Regions from separate parts of the Homo sapiens genome. Here region 2 is linked to region 1. Evidence: promoter capture Hi-C in 16 types of primary human blood cells and fetal thymus (Javierre and others, 2016). All regions are on one chromosome and are shown on one strand. Each heading gives the region's core, a stretch centred on a gene start or on the middle of the fragment in contact. The rest is flanking DNA. Distances are from core to core; before and after follow the strand shown.

What was found. The method cuts DNA at HindIII sites, captures the fragments that hold promoters and counts their contacts. A CHiCAGO score of 5 or more calls a contact.
Region 2: a contact is called between a fragment that was not itself captured here and the fragment with the promoter of POU3F3 in region 1, in 1 of 17 cell types (megakaryocytes). The highest score is 5.6, in megakaryocytes.

What each region holds. Positions count from the first base shown.
Region 1 is chr2:104,851,942-104,856,868 of GRCh38, forward strand. It overlaps POU3F3 (POU class 3 homeobox 3), which reads left to right and starts at 2,174. Exons shown (of 1, transcript NM_006236.3): 1 at 2,174-4,927. The coding sequence starts at 3,570. It also overlaps a transcript of PANTR1 not described here. RefSeq lists a silencer at 520-569 and an enhancer at 1,778-2,367. The HindIII fragment of the contact is 8,766 bases long and covers 1-4,927 here.
Region 2 is chr2:103,948,592-103,953,454 of GRCh38, forward strand. The region is part of intron 1 of LINC01965 (long intergenic non-protein coding RNA 1965); the gene reads left to right. Among named protein-coding and RNA genes, the nearest start is that of LINC01965, 77 kb to the left of the region's middle. The HindIII fragment of the contact is 8,352 bases long and covers 1-4,863 here.

The DNA of each region.
Region 1 (4,927 bases), core at 924-3,423:
ATCCTCCCCATTCAGTGTAAACAAAACCACGAGACTCTCTCGGTTTTTGAGCCGGATCCAAGCAAAATCGGCAGGAAAGGAAAACACGGGGTGCTGGCACCGACTATTCAAACGTCTGCACCTGGAGATCTCAGATTGATTCAATGAAATCTGTGTTCCATCTTTTATATATACATATACGCATACGTAAATATAAAAAGCAACCTTTGGGGGCCGCAGAGGAAAAAAATCCGTTCTGTTTGGGGTTTGGTTACCACCGCCTTTGGTATCTATACCTTGGCAATAATGGCTTTGCTAAAACCTACCTACGATGGTATCTCACCCGGCAAGCAGGAGCTGGACAAGAGCCTACATAAATTCTACGCGTCTAGTGTTAATCTTGAGATCACGCGGGGGCTGCCTGGCTGCGGCTGGGCAGGAGAACTCCTGCTTTCACTGAGTTCACTTAACTGCGCTCGGCAGAGGCACGATACAGCGGGAGAGAAGGGCAGGCCCGTTCACATTTTAATCGGAGCGCACCGGCGGCCGCTCCTCGGCTGCGTCCTGGGCTGCCGCTCGGGCTCGGGACTGCCAGATGCAGGCTCTGGCTGGGGGCGGCGGGCGCAAGCGGGCGCACCCGCAGCTAGGGGTGCGGGGTGCACGCACACGCACGCTCATTAAGAGCCATGTATTTATTGAATGTCCGAGTTGGGTTAGTTCATTGGAAATCCCCGAGGAGGGCTCAATTTGCCCTTGTTTTCGTTGCCACTTTCTCTTTTTTCTTGGTTCGCTGAGGTTCCTCTGTGCAGCGTTTCCGCTTGGCCGCGTCCCCCCACCCCACCCCACCCCACCCCCGCTTCTCTCGCCTACCGGGTGCACTCCCCCTCCCATCCCCCTTAACTCTTTCAGCTGGGTTAGAGCTGAGAAAGCATTTGTCGCCGCCAGCCCCATCCACCACGCAAATCCATCTGAGACAGAAAGGAAAGAAAAAAAAGCACCACCATGCCTAAGAATAGAGAGCGAGCAAACCCCCCCACCGCTAATCACACACACACACACACACACACACACACACACACACGAGGAAGCGGTGGAGCAGAGAAGGGCGCGGCTAGCCGATCCCGGTTCTTTCGCCCGGCTCCTGCTGCCACAGGGAATTCCTAAAGCCATTGGGGTCGAATACACTTACGATGAATCTATGGGGGAAGGTCGGACTGATTGCTTTTCAAATACATCGCACGGCTCCGCTGACCGGCACCCTCCAAACTCACAAGGGCACGCACGCTACTTGCACGAATCCCAGAGGAGGGAGGAGGGAGGAAGGGAGGGAGAGCGAAGGAGGGAGAGAGGGGGTGGAGGAGCCAGGGAGCGGCGGCAGCGAGCGGTCCGTCTCGCACGCGCGGGCACCGCGCTGGTCCTGGGCTGCAGGTTTCCCAGATGATGGCATCCGAGAACTTAAACAAAGGGGGCTGCCGCCGGCGCGCAACGGCTGCGGAAAGTTGCGGTGGCGGATTTCCAAGGAGCGTGGCCACGACCAGAGCTCTTGGCGATGCGAGCCCCCGCTTCCCACCCCCGCCGATCAGAGAAGGGGGCCGGCTGGTGAAGGGAAGAGGAAACTTTGAAACCACTGGGGACACATCTGTCTATAGGTATTAGCTTGAATGGTACATCCGTGCCGCGCGCTTTACAAATCTCTGGCGGGGCGGGGGTAAGGGGGTGAGCAACCCGACGCGTACTAGGTGGGGTGGGCAGGTTGCTATTTTTCATGTTTCCCCCTTCGTTTTCCTTCTGATTCTCTTCCCCCCTCTCGTCCCTCCCTCCCTTTTATCTCCCCTTTCTTCCCCCCGCCCAGACCTATTGCGAACGCCCAGAGCCGCCGAGGGAACGCCAACGTCTGGGCCGGACACTAAGAGTTAAGATGTGGCGGAGGGGGCGGCGGGGGAGGGGCGGGGAGGGGAAAGTGGTGAGGGGGAGGGAGGCTGGAGGACGACAGATTTCCAGCTTCTACGACGCTCTGCCTAAATTAAAAAGCAACCAATCGGAACGGCCGGAAGGGGGGCCTCGCGTCCTGAGCCAGTCATTCCGAGCCTGCCAATCACCCAGCGGGTAGCCAATCAGCGGGGGCCCTGGTGCTCGACTTCCTTGTATTTGGGAAAGTGTGGTGGTGGGTGCGCGCTCGCGGCGGAGGGTAAACATTCGACAGTCCCCGCTCTGAGAGGGAGGGACAGAGAGCGAACTGTCAGATCGGAGCGAGAGCGGGCGCCCGAGAGAGGGAGAGAGAGAGAGGGAGGGAGAGGAAAAGTGAGAGAGGGAAAGAGAGCGCGAACGAGGGCGCAGAGCGAGCTCCTGCTGCAACTCTGCTCCAGCACGGCCAGCGCCAGCGCCCGCCGTCGGTGCACTCTACGAGCCGTGCAGCGTGCCCACTGGAGTTGTTGTGTATCAAGGATCGATCCCCTATATGCACACACACACCTCCACCTCCACCAATGCACTCTTCTTCCTCCTCCTTCTCCAGACAACTGCTGGGAAAAAAATAAAACACCAACCCCAACCGTCAGCAACAAGGTAACAGAGCGATTCGACATCATTTTTTTTCCTGTTCAATTTTTTCCTTGTTATATTTGTTTCCTAATTTCTGCCCAAAAGGAAAGATGTCGCATCAGACTGTGACTGTTGCGAGGAGAATGAAAAAGGACTCTTGTTTCAGAGGCAACCAAGAGCTCCGGCAATAGCAACTTCAGAGAAATGCACCATCGCAAGAAGTTTTCCTAGGACAGAACAAAACTTGAAACGAGAGGACCAGAGGGGGAGAGCAGGAGCCAGCCTCCCCTCTCCGCACTCGCGAGCAGCCAGCAGCACCACGCCTTCAAGGACGAAAAAGTTTTACTACTCTAAGGGAAAACGAGTGAAATGTGTTCCTGAGGAGGAGAGGAGAGGAGAGGAGAGAGCGGACAAGAGAAGGAGCGGGCCGGTTGCTGGTCATCCGTAATTTGGCTAAGGAAGAAAGGAGCAGCTTCTTTCTTTGTTATCTCCCGTGAAACCTTCACTTAGCAGGTGGACGGAGCCCCGCGACCGGGCAGAGTCCGGGCTCGCCCGAGGACAGGAGGAGGAGCGGGAGCCCGCGCGTCCCGGGAGAGCGCCCCGAGTGCAGGTCCCCGCCCCGCCCGGCGAGCCCCGCTGGAGCGAGCCCAGCGCGCCGGGGCTGGGGGGCGGCCACGACCCCCCCTGAAGGGGGTGGCCACGGAGCGCACCCCGAGAAGCGAGCCCCCCTCCCCAGAGCGCTGCTCCTGCGGCTGCTGCTGCTGCTGGTGACCAAGGCCGGCCGGCGACCCCCGCGCCCTGCCGAGCGGCCTTGCAGCTGCAGCCGGGGGCCGCGGCGGCGGCGGCGGCGGCGGGGGCGGAGGCGGCGGCGGAGGAGGAGGCGGCGAAGGCGGCGGGGCCGGCGGGGGCCCGGGGCGGGGGCGGGGAAGGAGGGGGGGAGGAGGCGGGAGGCGGGGGGCGCGGCGGCGGCGGCGGCGGCGGCGGCCGCGGCTGCTGCTGCGGCGGCGGCGGCGGTGGTGGCGGCGGTGGGGTGGCGGGAGCGGAGCGGCATGGCCACGGCGGCTTCTAACCCCTACCTGCCGGGGAACAGCCTGCTCGCGGCCGGCTCTATTGTGCACTCGGACGCGGCAGGGGCTGGCGGCGGCGGGGGTGGCGGCGGCGGCGGCGGCGGGGGCGGCGCAGGGGGCGGGGGCGGCGGCATGCAGCCGGGCAGCGCCGCCGTGACCTCGGGCGCCTACCGGGGGGACCCGTCCTCTGTCAAGATGGTCCAGAGCGACTTCATGCAGGGGGCCATGGCCGCCAGCAACGGCGGCCATATGCTGAGCCACGCGCACCAGTGGGTCACAGCCCTGCCCCACGCCGCCGCCGCCGCCGCCGCTGCCGCCGCCGCCGCCGTGGAGGCGAGCTCGCCGTGGTCGGGCAGCGCCGTGGGCATGGCTGGCAGCCCCCAGCAGCCACCGCAGCCGCCGCCGCCACCGCCGCAGGGCCCCGACGTGAAGGGCGGCGCCGGGCGCGACGACCTGCACGCGGGCACAGCGCTGCACCACCGCGGGCCGCCGCACCTCGGACCCCCGCCGCCGCCCCCACACCAGGGCCACCCTGGGGGCTGGGGGGCGGCCGCCGCTGCCGCAGCCGCAGCCGCCGCCGCCGCCGCCGCCGCGCACCTCCCGTCCATGGCCGGGGGCCAGCAGCCGCCGCCGCAGAGTCTGCTCTACTCGCAGCCCGGAGGCTTCACGGTGAACGGCATGCTGAGCGCGCCACCGGGGCCCGGCGGCGGCGGCGGCGGCGCGGGCGGTGGAGCCCAGAGCTTGGTGCACCCGGGGCTGGTGCGCGGGGACACGCCAGAGCTGGCCGAGCACCACCACCACCACCACCACCACGCGCATCCTCACCCGCCGCACCCGCACCACGCGCAGGGACCCCCGCACCACGGCGGCGGCGGCGGCGGCGCGGGGCCTGGACTCAACAGCCACGACCCGCACTCGGACGAGGACACGCCGACGTCGGACGACCTGGAGCAGTTCGCCAAGCAGTTCAAGCAGCGGCGCATCAAGCTGGGCTTCACGCAGGCCGACGTGGGGTTGGCGCTGGGCACACTCTACGGCAACGTGTTCTCGCAGACCACCATCTGCCGCTTCGAGGCCCTGCAGCTGAGCTTCAAGAACATGTGCAAGCTCAAGCCGCTGCTGAACAAGTGGCTGGAGGAGGCGGACTCAAGCACCGGCAGCCCCACAAGCATCGACAAGATCGCGGCGCAGGGCCGCAAGCGCAAGAAGCGGACCTCTATCGAGGTGAGCGTCAAGGGCGCGCTGGAGAGCCACTTCCTCAAGTGCCCCAAGCCCTCCGCGCAGGAGATCACCAACCTGGCCGACAGCCTGCAGCTCGAGAAGGAGGTGGTGCGGGTCTG
Region 2 (4,863 bases), core at 1,361-3,860, 900 kb before region 1:
CCTATGTGGAAAGACATAAATAGAGTTTTAGTAGTTATGTTTAACTATATTGACTCCCTTGAGAATCCATCCACAATGGTCACCCCAATCTGTTCCCAAATCATTAAGCCAGTTATGCAAACATCAAGATTGTGTATAATTTGCAGATCCAAGAAGAGGATACTTTTTTTCTCTCTTCTTCTTTTTTTCCTTATTCCTCAGCCATCCTTCCTTCTATCTCCTCTATATTTTCTTTTGCATTGTCCTATTTTCCTCCATTTTACAATGTATGTGACTCTCCCTCTTCCTCTGGCTTTATCATTGTACAGGTCATAGTAGCCATTCATCTACCCCCAAATGCCAGAGAAGGTGAAACATACCCAGAGTGTGTAACTAGGATCTCTGTGCAAGGGCCAGATTTACAAGGCATAGACAGAAGGCTCCCAGACACTCTCCTGCTACTGTCTATCTTCTTTTTGCTTGTTGTTCTTGGATTCCTGGATTTTCTTTTAAATTATTGGTATTACTATCTATAGTGTTAAAAATGCTATAGTATATAATACACGCTAGCCTAGTTTGTATAGTCATTATTTACAGTTATGGGTTTTTGAGTCACAGACCTGGATGAATTTCTGAGTTCTCCTATTTACTAACTATATGAACTTTGCCGAGTTACCTAAATTCTGTAAATAGCTTATAGAGTTAATTAAACTAAAAAATGACATGTAACAATGGTATGTAGCCCATAGGCTTATTTTCATGGTGCTAAGTGTTGAAAACTTTGTTAAGTGTAGTTCGTGGACCTAATAATAGAACCTTCCCTTCAAAGATGTCCATGTCCTAATCCCCAGAACCAGTGAATACCTTACCTCACATAGAAAAAAACACTTCTAAAAGAAGACATTTATGCAGCCAAAAAACACGTGAAAAAATGCTCACCATCACTGGCCATCAGAGAAATGCAAATCAAAACCACAATGAGATACCATCTCACACCAGTTAGAATGGCAATCATTAAAAAGTCAGGAAACAACAGGTGCTGGAGAGGATGTGGAGAAATAGGAACACTTTTACACTGTTGGTGGGACTGTAAACTAGTTCAACCATTGTGGAAGTCAGTGTGGAGATTCCTTAGGGATCTAGAACTAGAAATACCATTTGGCCCAGCCATCCCATTACTGGGTATATACCCAAAGGACTATAAATCACGCTGCTATAAAGACACATGCACAAGTATGTTTATTGCGGCACTATTCACAATAGCAAAGACTTGGAACCAACCCGAATGTCCAACAATGATAGACTGGATTAAGAAAATGTGGCACATATACACCATGGAATACTATGCAGCCATAAAAAATGATGAGTTCATGTCCTTTATAGGGACATGGATGAAATTGGAAATCATCATTCTCAGTAAACTATCGCAAGGACAAAAAACCAAACACCGCATGTTCTCACTCATAGGTGGGAATTGAACAACGAGAACACATGGACACAGGAAGGGGAACATCACACTCTGGGGACTGTTGTGGGGTGGGGGGAGGGGGAAGGGATAGCACTAGGAGATATACCTAATGCTAGATGACGAGTTAATGGGTGCAGCACACCAGCATGGCACATGTATACATATGTAACTAACCTGCATATTGTGCACATGTACCCTAAAACTTAAAGTATAATAATAATACAATAAAATAAAGAAAAAAAAAAAACAGAAAAAAAGACTTCTCCCACGTGATTCAGTTAAAAATCTTGAGATGAAGAGGTTATCCCAGATTATTCAAATTGACCCAATGTGATCACAAGGATCCTAATAAGAGCACTGTGTAAGGGCCAAAGCCATAAAGAGAAGAGAAGTGGCAAAGGGAGCAGAAGCTGGAGTGATACACTTTGTAATGGAGGAAGGGGTCACTAGCCAAGGAATGTGAATGGCTTATAGAACTGGAAAAGGCAAGGAAATAGAATGGTCTCTAGAGATTCCACAATGAATGAAGCTCCCTAAACCCATGATTTTAGCCCATAAGACCCATTTCAGACTTCTGTTCTCCAGAACAGTAAGATAATATATTTAAAGTGTTTTAAGCCACTGAGTCCACAGTAATTTGTTATGGTGGCAACAGGGCACTAATACAATTCAAACATTCAGGACTCTGGAAGAAAGACTATAAGTAGAATGGCTGTCATCATTCTCTCCTTTCCCTTTCTATTTGTTGTTCACCATCTAAGCCTGGTTATTTATCTCCTTACCTACTTGCCTAAGGGAGAAATGGTGAGCAAAGGTGGAATAGACTGAGGGAGAACAAAAACAATATTTCATTTAGGTAGAGAATAGATTCTACAGTTGTCTTCATCTAAGAGAAGAGAAAAGAAATTAGAGACTTGAAATCAATAAATACATCATGAAAATAATGTTTATAAAAACAAAAGCAAGACATCCTTTGTTTTATTTTGTCATTACAAGATATCTAAACCTCACTCATTCCTCAACTCAACACAACCAGGGTTCTACCCGACCACTTCAACTGAAAAAATGTTCTTGCCAACATCTAATAAATGTCATTTCTAAATCTGAAATTATCTTCTTTCTCAACCCTAAAATGACATCAAACAAAATTGTACAAGACAAACAAGAAATAAATAACCTTGTCTCTGTCCTGTATTCACAATTTTGGAAAATTTAATTACCCTCAAAGTATAAGCCTTAGTATTTTCATCAACCATTTCCTCTCACCTCTCTTCAGGGTATTTTATCAGAGATATGTATCTTGAGTCTATTCCCCCCTCATTTTCCTCATCACTTCTTGCTTTAATATTTGCATTAAATATTTCCCTGGGACTGGCAGATGGCAATCTCTGCTTCCCTCACTTTAGCGACACTGTTGTCACACTTATCCATCCAAAACACAAATTTGACTGTGTTTAAAAATGTGGATGATGAAAATGGTTGTTTAAACATGAGCAGCATAGGAAGAACAACCATGTGATAAGTAACAGGTGCTGGCAGTAAACCAGGTGGGGATGGCAGAGCAGGGAAAGTTGAGGCACAGGGATGGTGTCAATGAATGAGTTGGATATGGGGGAGAGATTATTTAAGTGTATTTTGGACAAGAGAAGCAGGTTCTTCACTGTTTGAAAAGGGAGGTACATATAAGAGTGAAAACTAAAATGTATCCTAGAATGTTGAATTGATAGAGATATCAATATTAATTCATTATTTTTGATATAAACAAATAGATTTAGATGTATAGATATAGATATACACGTGTTTATGTCTATACATGTATTTCTATCCAGTGGCAAGACCTGGAAGAAGAGTCACCCCAGTGTTAATGGGGTGACACTCCTAATATCTTATGTTAAGAGTGTCACCCTAATATATAGGGGTAACTCTCCTAGCACCTAGGTATTGACTTCTAAATATGATGCTACTGGCCAGGGCTCCTTGGGGAAATGACTACATCGAGTGCTGAGGCAGAACAGGTGAAACATTAACTTGGAACATCTTACTGTGTCCCTAAGCAAAGCAGTGTCCCAAAGATGATTGTGACTTGTCAAATTCACAAGATAAAAACCCTTTTGAAAAGCCTGTTGCTGGTCAAATAGGGTGCAATTTGATTATCAAAATAAATAATGATCATAATAGGTTATAATCCTTTGATTAAATTAGGAATTGATTAGGCCATCTGGATATAAACAGATAGACATTTCAATAAGGAGATGTTTATATGGTATCCAAATATCTTCCAACAAAATACTTATTAAATTACATTGGGAAAAAGAGTTATTCTGCATTGAAGACATCTGGGAGAAACCACCTTAATCAGGTGATAAAAGACAACATCAGTATTATGGGAACAAATTGAAATTGGGTGCCACCTGATTGGATGCAACAAAAAGGACACTTGATCTCTTCTGCCAAAGTTGTACAACCTGGATCTAAACCTGAAGAAACATTAGACAAAGGCAAGTTGAGGACATTCTACAAAATAACTGGCCCAACATGTGTGATTGTGTCAATTTCATGATAATCAAGGAAAGGGTGAGAAAATATTCCACACTGAACAAAACTGAAAAGCATGACAACTGAATGCAGCACACGTTTTTGGACTCGAGCCCTTTGTTAAAAGAAACATTTTGGGGACCACCGGCAAAACTTGAATGGGGCCTACCAATTAAATACTAATATCATATCAATGTTACTTTCCTGATGTTGACGACAATATTATAGTTAGGCAGAAGAATGTCCTTATTTATAGTGAATATGCACTAAAATATTCGTTGGTAATGAGGCATCAAGTCAGCATCTTACCCTTAAAAGATTCAGAGAAAAATAATGTTCCTTGCACTGTACTTGAAATTTTACTGTATGTTTGACATTGTTTCAAAGTAAAACCTTTTAAAAATGTTTGATGGCCTTTTAATGCCCATGGACATAATTTTGCTACATTAATATGCCATTCTCATTCTGTCCATGCCTACCACTTTCTTTATGAAATATTTTATTTATCTTTATTCATGTTGGCTCTTTGTGAACTTCTAAGATGAATATCTTTGTGTGAGGTCTCAACTTTTCCAGAGTCTTACAGGCAAAGTAACTTGATGAAATCTTAATATGCTTAGCTTAAAACAAAGTATAGTTGACAAAAAAGAAAAGTATTGAAAAATCTTTCCCTGGGACAGAAACATTTTGTAGTTGTCTACTGTTTCTTGAAACCATCAGACCGTCCTACATGCCCTGTGCACCAGTTTGATGAAACACCTACCCTTTCCCTAAACATGCAATGTCCCCTGGGACTTTATGTTTTCATTCCTGGTTTTCCACATACCTGATAGCCCTTGCTTGTTGCCTCCGTATTTTAATCCCCTAATAGAGAATGTCTG